3 separate regions of the Homo sapiens genome follow, and all the other regions are linked to region 1. The links are contacts of gene promoters, found by promoter capture Hi-C in human tissues and cell types (Jung and others, 2019). All regions are on one chromosome and are shown on one strand. Each heading gives the region's core, a stretch centred on a gene start or on the middle of the fragment in contact. The rest is flanking DNA. Distances are from core to core; before and after follow the strand shown. Region 1 holds the start of S100P (S100 calcium binding protein P). Region 2 overlaps KIAA0232. Region 3 overlaps TBC1D14 (TBC1 domain family member 14).

Region 1 (2,700 bases), core at 6-2,505:
TTAACCGGGTATGGTGACATGCACCTGTAGTCCCAGCTACTCGGTAGGCTGAGGTGGGAGGATCACCTGAGCCCAGGGAGGTCGAGGCTGCAGTGAGCCGTGATCCTGCCACTGCACTCCAGCCTGGGTGACAGAGTGACATCTTGTCTCAAAAAAAAAAAAAAAGAAAAGAAAAGAAAATAGAAGCAATATTCTGAAGTGTTTCATGTCTTTGAAGTGATTCTAGGGCTGAAAATTTCAGGCTTTCATTTTTGATTATCAGCATCTATGTGGGTTAGCCCCTTAGCAGGTAGGCAGAGTCTGGTGGGGCCCGAAGGGGAGGGGAAGGAAGGAAGAAAGTGGGGGAGTGAGAAAGAAGGAGAGGACAGGGGTCAAAGGGAAGGGGAAATGGAGAGGGTACGGCTTCTGTTCAGCCCAGCCGGAGGCTGCCCCGGGCGGAAGGAAGCTGGTCCTGGCCGCCCTGAGGGGCCTTCTGTGAGGCTCAGGCCGGTGGCTCCTCCCTGGCAGGGAGCCCAAGGGAGGTCCACAGCTCTGCGCAGACAGGTGCCAGGATGGAGCCTCCTCCCGTCCTTCCTGCCAGACCCACTAATACCAGGCAACAAGGGGCCTGGGAATGGGAGCAGGGAAAGCGGGCAAGTGGGAGGCAGAGCTGGGGCGTTTATGGCCGGCAGCCTTGGAGGACAGCCCCGAGGGCTCAAGGGCTTGGCAAGCTTGGCAAACTTGCAAATGGCAGCCCTGGATTGCATTCCGCCCCTGCCCCCACTGCACAGGTTTGAGTCCCACTCTCCCACCAGGCCTGTCACAAATACACTGGGGTCAACCCCATGTTTCAAGGATCAAGCTGACCACACCCTCTCCCTGCTCAGATGCTCCCGCCTCCCCTGCCTTTATGCCAGGGTGGGTCCGTTCCTTGGCTGGGCTTCCAGGGCATTTCAGGATCTGTCCCTCTTGCCTCTGAGCCCCTTGACCGCCGACCCCACCGCAGCTCTCAGCCCTCTGCCTGCCACGCCTTCCCCTTCTTCCCCAGCCCCCGCTGAGTCCAGCACTGCCGGCCTGGCTCACCTGCAGGAAGCCTGGTAGCTCCTTCTCCATCAGCACCTTGAGCTCCCCCTTGGTCAGGGTCTGCGTGCTGCCCTCGCTGCCCGAATATCGGGAAAAGACGTCTATGATCATGCCCATGGCTGTCTCTAGTTCCGTCATGGTGCTAGATTCAGACCCACCTTCCTCCTGGGGGCTGGCAGGGCCGAGAAAATGTCCCACTGGCAGCCTCTTGGTGCTTTATAAGGCAGCCTCATATTGACACAGAGGGTGGGACAGTGGGGTTGGGACATTCAGGAAGTCCTGCCCCTCCCCATTCATGTGCTCAGTTCTGATGAAATGCATCGTTGTGATGACGTTTCTGGAACCTTTCCCCCAGCCAAGGCCCAGGGTGTGGGCTGCCTCCAGGCATCCACATTTTACAGTGTTCACCTGTGTCTCGGCGCCATCACTGAGCCACAGTGGCATCCTCATTCCTGGCCCTCCCTGGGTAAGTGGGCACGGGGTGAGTGTGTGTGGAGTGAGTGGTGACTCCGTGGCCCTTTGTGTCAATATCAGAGCGTGCTGGCACCCAGCGTGCTGACACGAGGAGACATCTGAGAGTGAATTCACATGGGCGTGTTTGTGAACATGGATCTGCCCCATCGTCCCTTTCTTAGAGCACTCTGTGTCCTTCAGAGGCCCAGCTTCCACGTCAATCTCGCTCGCTCCTCCCCTGTGGGGCCAAACAGAAAACTCCCCTTCATCCTCTGGGAGTTTGCTGAAAATCAACGGGCAGAAGGCAGATGAATAGGAGAAGAGCATAACAGATGTATTTGATCATAGCTTATGTGGCACGGCAGCCTTCAAGATGAAGATCCAAAGATCTGGTGGAAACTATCCATAAACACAGTTCAGCGAAGTATGGAAATATGATTGGATACAAAAGTAAGGCTGGATGCTCACAGACCAAGAGGAGAGCCTGGTAGGGCCTGTTGAGTCAGATTCCCTGGGGCCTCTCTGAGCAGCTCTCCTTCCTTCTAGGTGTGGGGCAGGACTCTTTCTGGAATGGAGCTCTTATGACCTACAGTCAAATAAAGCAGGCCAGAGGGTTTCTTTAGGCTGGTTTCTACACAGAAAGGGGAGGGAGTGGAGAACTGGAGTCATATTTCTGGGTTTTATGGCAGGGTTTGGGGAAGCCTCTCAGAGGAGGAGGAGCTGGAGACAGGAGGGTGGGAGCAGGACAGAGAAACTTTTGTTTCTGAGGCTTCCACGTTGGGGTGTTGTTTTTTGAGCCCCGGCACTTACCAAACCCAAATCACCCACAGGGCTTAGACGGCACAAAGGCTCCTGGGACTCTGGGCAGAGTCAGGGACAGTCACACCCCTCCCCGTCTCTATAGCGGAGGTACTCAGAGGGTCTGTGCTTGGGAGGCTGAGCGAGTCCTGGAGAGCATGGAGGTAGGGGCCTGTGTTCACATCCTGCCCCGGTCAAAGTAGGCCCACACTCAAAGGCCTCTCTCTCAGCAGAGATCTTCCAGAGTGTCAGCCTCCAGCAAGTTCCCTAACCTCTCCCAACACAGCCTCCACCAGCACATGGGCCGAGACTCTCCCCACGGGGCTGTGGCTCAACATAGAAAAACCTTGGTGCACGATGGCAGCAGCAGGTCTCACAAGAGCCGGC
Region 2 (2,700 bases), core at 119-2,618, 140 kb before region 1:
AGCTCAGCCTGTCTGTCAGCTGAGTACCAATGAGTGACTTTGGGTGAATCACCCAATTAAGCCCTGCCCAAATTCCTTACTTACAGATTCTGTCATATGATCGTGTTGTTGTTGTTGTTTTAATGCTACTAAGTTTTGGGGCAGTTTCTTGGGCAACAACACTCTTACCACAAATAAAAGTATTTCTTTTGTGCTAAACAACTCTCTTTTAAACTCAAGAGAACCACCCCTACCCCTCCCATTATAACTTTTACAGTGAACAAATCCAGGTTCATTCTATCTATATGTACCATCAAAAGATTTTTACTTTAGTTTCTTAAAATTTATTATTTTTTTAACCTGGTCATCATGTCACAAAAAATAAGAGTAATTGCCACTGGAATTTGTCAGTCTTAAAGAACACCTTTTCAAGGGACCCAATTGTGTCAAAGGTAATAATTACATCCAGAAATATTATAGTGACCATGTTTGCTGAATGCATAATTAGGATATATGGCAGGGCTAAATATTTCAAATTGAGATTGTTAGGGTAAATGTTGGAAATACTGTATCAGCAGCTTATCTTTGCCTCTAACAAATGCATTAGCCTACCTGCTAGAAGAGGAGTAGTTAATAGGAAAATAACTATTTGAAGGAAATATTTGTATGAATAGCAACAATAATAGCAATAGTTGTCAATATTTACTGAGCACTTACTTTGTGTCTAGTATTCCTCTAACTATATTATCAGTACATAAAATGATGCCTGGCACCTATATGGTCAATAAATGAATCTCCTTTAATCCTCAGTAACGATATTAGATATGCACATAATTTGTACAATTTATAAATGAAAAGACAGCTGTAGTGCCAGCTACTTGGAAGGCTGAGACAGGAGGACCCTTGAGCCCAAGAGTTCGAGGCTCAGTGAGCTCTGAGAAACACTGCACTCCAGCCTGGGCGAAAGCAAGACCCTATCTCTAAAATAATAATAATAATAAGAAAAGAAATGGAGAGTCAGGCACAGAGATGTTAACTTGTCCAAGTCAGTGGTCTAAGTTGGAAAGTGAAGAAGGTGGGGTTAGAACACAGGTCTTCAGATTCCAAGGCCTATGTTCTTAACAATGTGATACTGACTTACAGTAAGCGGGGGAAATCTCAAAAGGGAAAGAGAGAACAGGAGACTGCAGGTCTGAAAGTCACTTGGGATAAAAGTCAAGGTGGTATTAAAGGAACTTTTGGTCTGGGTCAGTAGTACAAGTTTTTTCACCCTATAACCCTTCTGATATCTCCTGCTTAATTCTTCATGAATTATCCAGTGATGTATATGCTATTTCATACCTACTACCCAGAAAGGTTTTTGTCACTATGGGAGTCAAAGTGAATACTGGCATGTATATACTCTTCCATCAGTAGCATGAACACTTTCTTCTTCCTTTTTTTTTCTTTTTTTCCTTTTTTTGAGATGCAGTCTCACTCTGTTGCCTAGGCTGGAGTGCAGTGACACAATCATGGCTCACTGCAGCCTCGACCTCCCTGGGCTCAGGTGATCCTCCAACCTCAGCCTCCCGAGCAGCTGAGACTACAGGCACACACCACCATGCCTGGCTAATTTTTGTATTATTTGTAGAGACAGGGTTTCTCCATGTTGCCCAGGCTAGTTTCAAACTCCTGGGCTCAAGTAATAGCATGGAATAATTCTTAGGAAGTTTTCAGGGATAGGGAAGGTTCTAGAAAGATACTCCTGGCTTTCTTCCTGGAGCTCTGAAATGCTGATTTGAAATAAGAGAATAAAAATAGGAAGTGTTGTTTAAATGCAAATAACAATGCTTGTGATGTAGAAGGTTATTTAATTAAAGTCTGTTGAATGTTTGTTGAAATACAGTGTATGCAGTGACACACACGAGGAGCGCTTTATGGTCAGACTTTTACAGTTCCTATTGTTAAAGATTCTAATAAACTGTAACAGGAAACACCGCAGATGCTAGCTTTTCAAGAAGCGTAATGCTGAACGGGACACGCTACAGGAGTATGTTACAAATAGGCTGAAGGAGCAAATAAGGTCTGTTGAATGAAGAAGGGATGAGTCTCACCTAGCACTCAGGACTGGGATTATTATTTATACAACCTGTGGGCAAATACAGATAATGTAATAATCCAGTTACATTTCTAGAAGGATGGACTCTGAGCTAGTAGATACAATTTGATTAGGGGATTTAAAACAAGCAACAGTAACTTCTCTGCAGGGCAGGCCCCAGTGTGTGATTATGGGGTCTACACCCACTCCTAGCATGCTTCCCTCCTACACACAAGTCACAGACCTGAGAAAGAAACATGTGGCTATCCATTTGTCTAATACGTATCTGAGCCTCTTGTATATTCCAGGAACTGTTTTAAGGGCTGGGAATCCAACAGAAAACATAGCAGAAAAGGTCCCCAACTCTGGCTGGGCGTGGTGGTTCACTTCTGTAATCCCAGCACTTTGGGAGGCCAAGGCAGGCAGATCACTTGAGGTCAGGAGCTCGAGACCAGCCTGGCCCACATGGTGAAACCCCATCTCTACTAAAAATACAAAAATTAGCCAGGTGTGGTGGTGGGCGCCTGTAATGCCAGCTACTCGGGTGGCTGAGGCAGGAGAATCGCTTGAACCTGGGAGGTGGAGGTTGCAGTGAGCCGAGATCACGCCACTACACTCCAGCCTAGGCAACACAGCAAGAGTCC
Region 3 (2,700 bases), core at 143-2,642, 250 kb before region 1:
CCCTCAGGCAAGAACCTCAACCCCAGCAAGGCTGACTCCAGGCAGGGCCCTCCCCGCTATACCTATCTGACCAGCACCCCCACCTGCCACCTGGCCTGGGTTTCCTTCCCCTTCCCCGGAGCCCTGAGGGCGGTTCTTTCTGTAGACCTCTCTGGGCTACACACATTCCATTATGGATTTGCTCGTTTCACACCCACTGTGTGCTGCTGTTACACATCAAGAACAACAAAGGTTCAAGTCACAGATTGTCCCACAGACCAGGGCTGAACAACAGAACTTCCTGCATGGTGGAAATGTACTAATCTGAGCCGCCCAACGGGGTGGCCACAAGCCACATGTGGCTACTGAGCGCCTGACTGGCCAGAGTGACTAAGAAACTGAATTTTCCATTTCGGGTAATTTTAACTCAATTTAAATAGCTACATGGGGCTAGTGGCTAACACACTGGACGGCAGTTTGATATTCTAGTAACTAAAGCACCAGCTGCGCCCCAATATACGACTCCAGGCAGCCAAAAGGGATGACTCTGCTGAGCATGCGTGAGGTGCCGCGGGAGCCAGGGGCACAGGCCGCTGGTGCCCATTTCTCAAGGAGCCTGGTGTAGGTCGTGACGCCTGAAAAGCAAGGCCAGTCCCCGCCGGCCTCAGGGCCTTCGTCTCCACTGTGTCCTTCGGAAGAACACGCTTCACCCGCACACCACTCACATCTTTGCTCAAATGCTGCTTTCCCACCAAAGCCCTCCCTGACCCCCCTGTGTAAAGTGGAGCCTCTCCCAGCTTTCCCATGCCACCTCCACACCACCACCCCACCCCCACCCCTCTCCTCAGGAACTCTGCCACAGGACTCACAGCCTGGCACTGAGCATCCCTTATCAGTCTCTGCAGTGTGGTCTCAGTCGACTATCTTGCCGTTGGGTGCTTTGATTTGGGAGAAGTGGGTGTGTTGACCGTTACATCCCCAAGACTGACGCAGGTATGCTGACCACTACATCCCCAGGACCGGGTCCTCGGGCAGATAATCTCTAAGAAAAGGGATGACGTCTGAATTCAACCATCTGGCAAGCACTTGCTGAGTTCTAATGAGCACCAGCGTACAATAAGTGAGAGGCAGTCCCTCGAGGGGTGCGCATGCTTCTGGGGGGGACCTGGTCGGGTGGCATTGCGCATGAGAGGTGCCCCAGCCACAGAGCTGGGAGTCGACACACAGCAAAGGGGGCCATTCTTCCTGGGGGGGGCTCCTGTGGATTCTTCTCATTTATGCAGCAGGAAGAGGCAGGCAGGAAAACCATTCCAGGAGGGGTCTCCAGGCCTGCAGGAGGACAGCAGGGACTACTGCTGATTCCAGAAGGTTCTTCCTGCTGGAAGATGCCGAGACCGCCTGACGCAACTCTGCATTTCACACGTGGGAAAGCTGTGTCTGCAAAGCGACTTGCCCCAGATGCAGAGGGAGTGGGTGGCAGAGCCAGGATGCCGTCCACTGCTGATGAGGAAGAGGCCACCGGCTGAGCCGGAGAGGGTTTCACTAGCATCTCTTCCCCATGGTGTCCACGGTGCTTTCCCATGCAGCACTCAGGCCAGCCCACAGAGCCTGGGGGATGGCGCCGCTGCTGCACTACTGCACAACCAGATCTCCACTCCTGCAGCCGGGACGGATACTCTTCAGAGTGCGGCTGCAGGGGAGGAACCCAATGACCTGAAACAATGGAACACTGGGCCCCTGGGAGGCCAGCCCGAGCCACAGCCCCTGCACAGCTGTGGTGACAGACATGCTCACCCCGGCATCTCTCCTGTGCCCCCTGGGTGAATGCGGGATCCACGAGGCACACAGAAGGCCCGCGAGGCAAGGCTGGTCCTCTCATGGAGGCTGGAGAGGGCTTCCTGGCAGTGGCTAAACATCTGCAGAAATGATCTAGGGATGTGGATCCTCAGAGAAGCAGTGAGAAGGCGTCCCTGAATGAGCGAGCCCCACCTCTCTGCAGACCTGGTCCTGGGGAGGGGGAGCTGCCAGGCTGGTGCCTGGTGGGAAGGCCAAGGGGACACCTGCTGTGGGCAGCCAGCTGGGAGTGAGGCTGGGATCCCCTGGAGAGGGCCAAGGACTGAAGAAGAGGAAGTGGCGCCTCACGCTCGTGTGACCACGATCCCTGTTCCTCCCAGATGTTTCCTCTTGGCATTGACTTCCCCCCTTGCTATCCTGGCCTGGCCCTCTCCAGAGGAGCATGTGAGGTTATGTCCACCCAAGGGCAGGGTGGCCGAGCATGGCACCACTGTCTCATGCAGCTCCTAGCACTGGGGCCACCAGGCAGCCCCCAGAAGAGGGATCTGCACAGCCAACAGTCAGGGCTGATCCCCACGGTCCTCCCCCAGACAAGCTCTCCCTGAGGATGGGGTGCTGTTCACAAATGGGGAGGCTCTTACACCATGGGAAGAAGCTGTGTCTCGGCAAGGCCAGCCCAGCAAAGTAGCGCCCACCACCACAACGCCCGGGACGGCACTGCTGCCTCCCTCTCCCCACCCAGCACCCGGGAGGAGTGGAATGAAGACCTCCACTTCCTTTCTCCAACACTCCTGGACCAGGCTCACCAGATGCGGCTCAATCAGCAATGCAACGGCCCCGGGGGGAGCCTACGTCAGACGTGGTGGAAACTGACCCTGCAGGTTCCACTCCCAGCCGGCTGTGTGACTGGAGCCTCCCCGCCCACAC

Evidence for each region. Contacts are between HindIII fragments. The study calls those that stand out against the background at their distance.
Region 2: a contact is called between a fragment that was not itself captured here and the fragment with the promoter of S100P in region 1, in 1 of the 25 tissues and cell types used here (spleen).
Region 3: a fragment that was not itself captured here is called in contact with the fragment with the promoter of S100P in region 1 in 1 of the 25 tissues and cell types used here (spleen).

Annotation. Positions count from the first base shown.
Region 1 is chr4:6,692,433-6,695,132 of GRCh38, reverse strand. It overlaps S100P (S100 calcium binding protein P), which reads right to left and starts at 1,255. Exons shown (of 2, transcript NM_005980.3): 1 at 1,063-1,255. The coding sequence starts at 1,200. RefSeq lists enhancers at 252-987, 988-1,724, 2,034-2,571. The HindIII fragment of the contact is 18,883 bases long and covers 1-2,700 here.
Region 2 is chr4:6,832,372-6,835,071 of GRCh38, reverse strand. The region is part of intron 3 of KIAA0232; the gene reads right to left. Among named protein-coding and RNA genes, the nearest start is that of KIAA0232, 51 kb to the right of the region's middle. The HindIII fragment of the contact is 7,001 bases long and covers 1-2,700 here.
Region 3 is chr4:6,937,858-6,940,557 of GRCh38, reverse strand. All of the region lies in intron 2 of TBC1D14 (TBC1 domain family member 14), which reads right to left. Among named protein-coding and RNA genes, the nearest start is that of TBC1D14, 29 kb to the right of the region's middle. RefSeq lists enhancers at 110-239, 1-380, 381-958 and a silencer at 1,672-1,721. The HindIII fragment of the contact is 7,774 bases long and covers 1-2,700 here.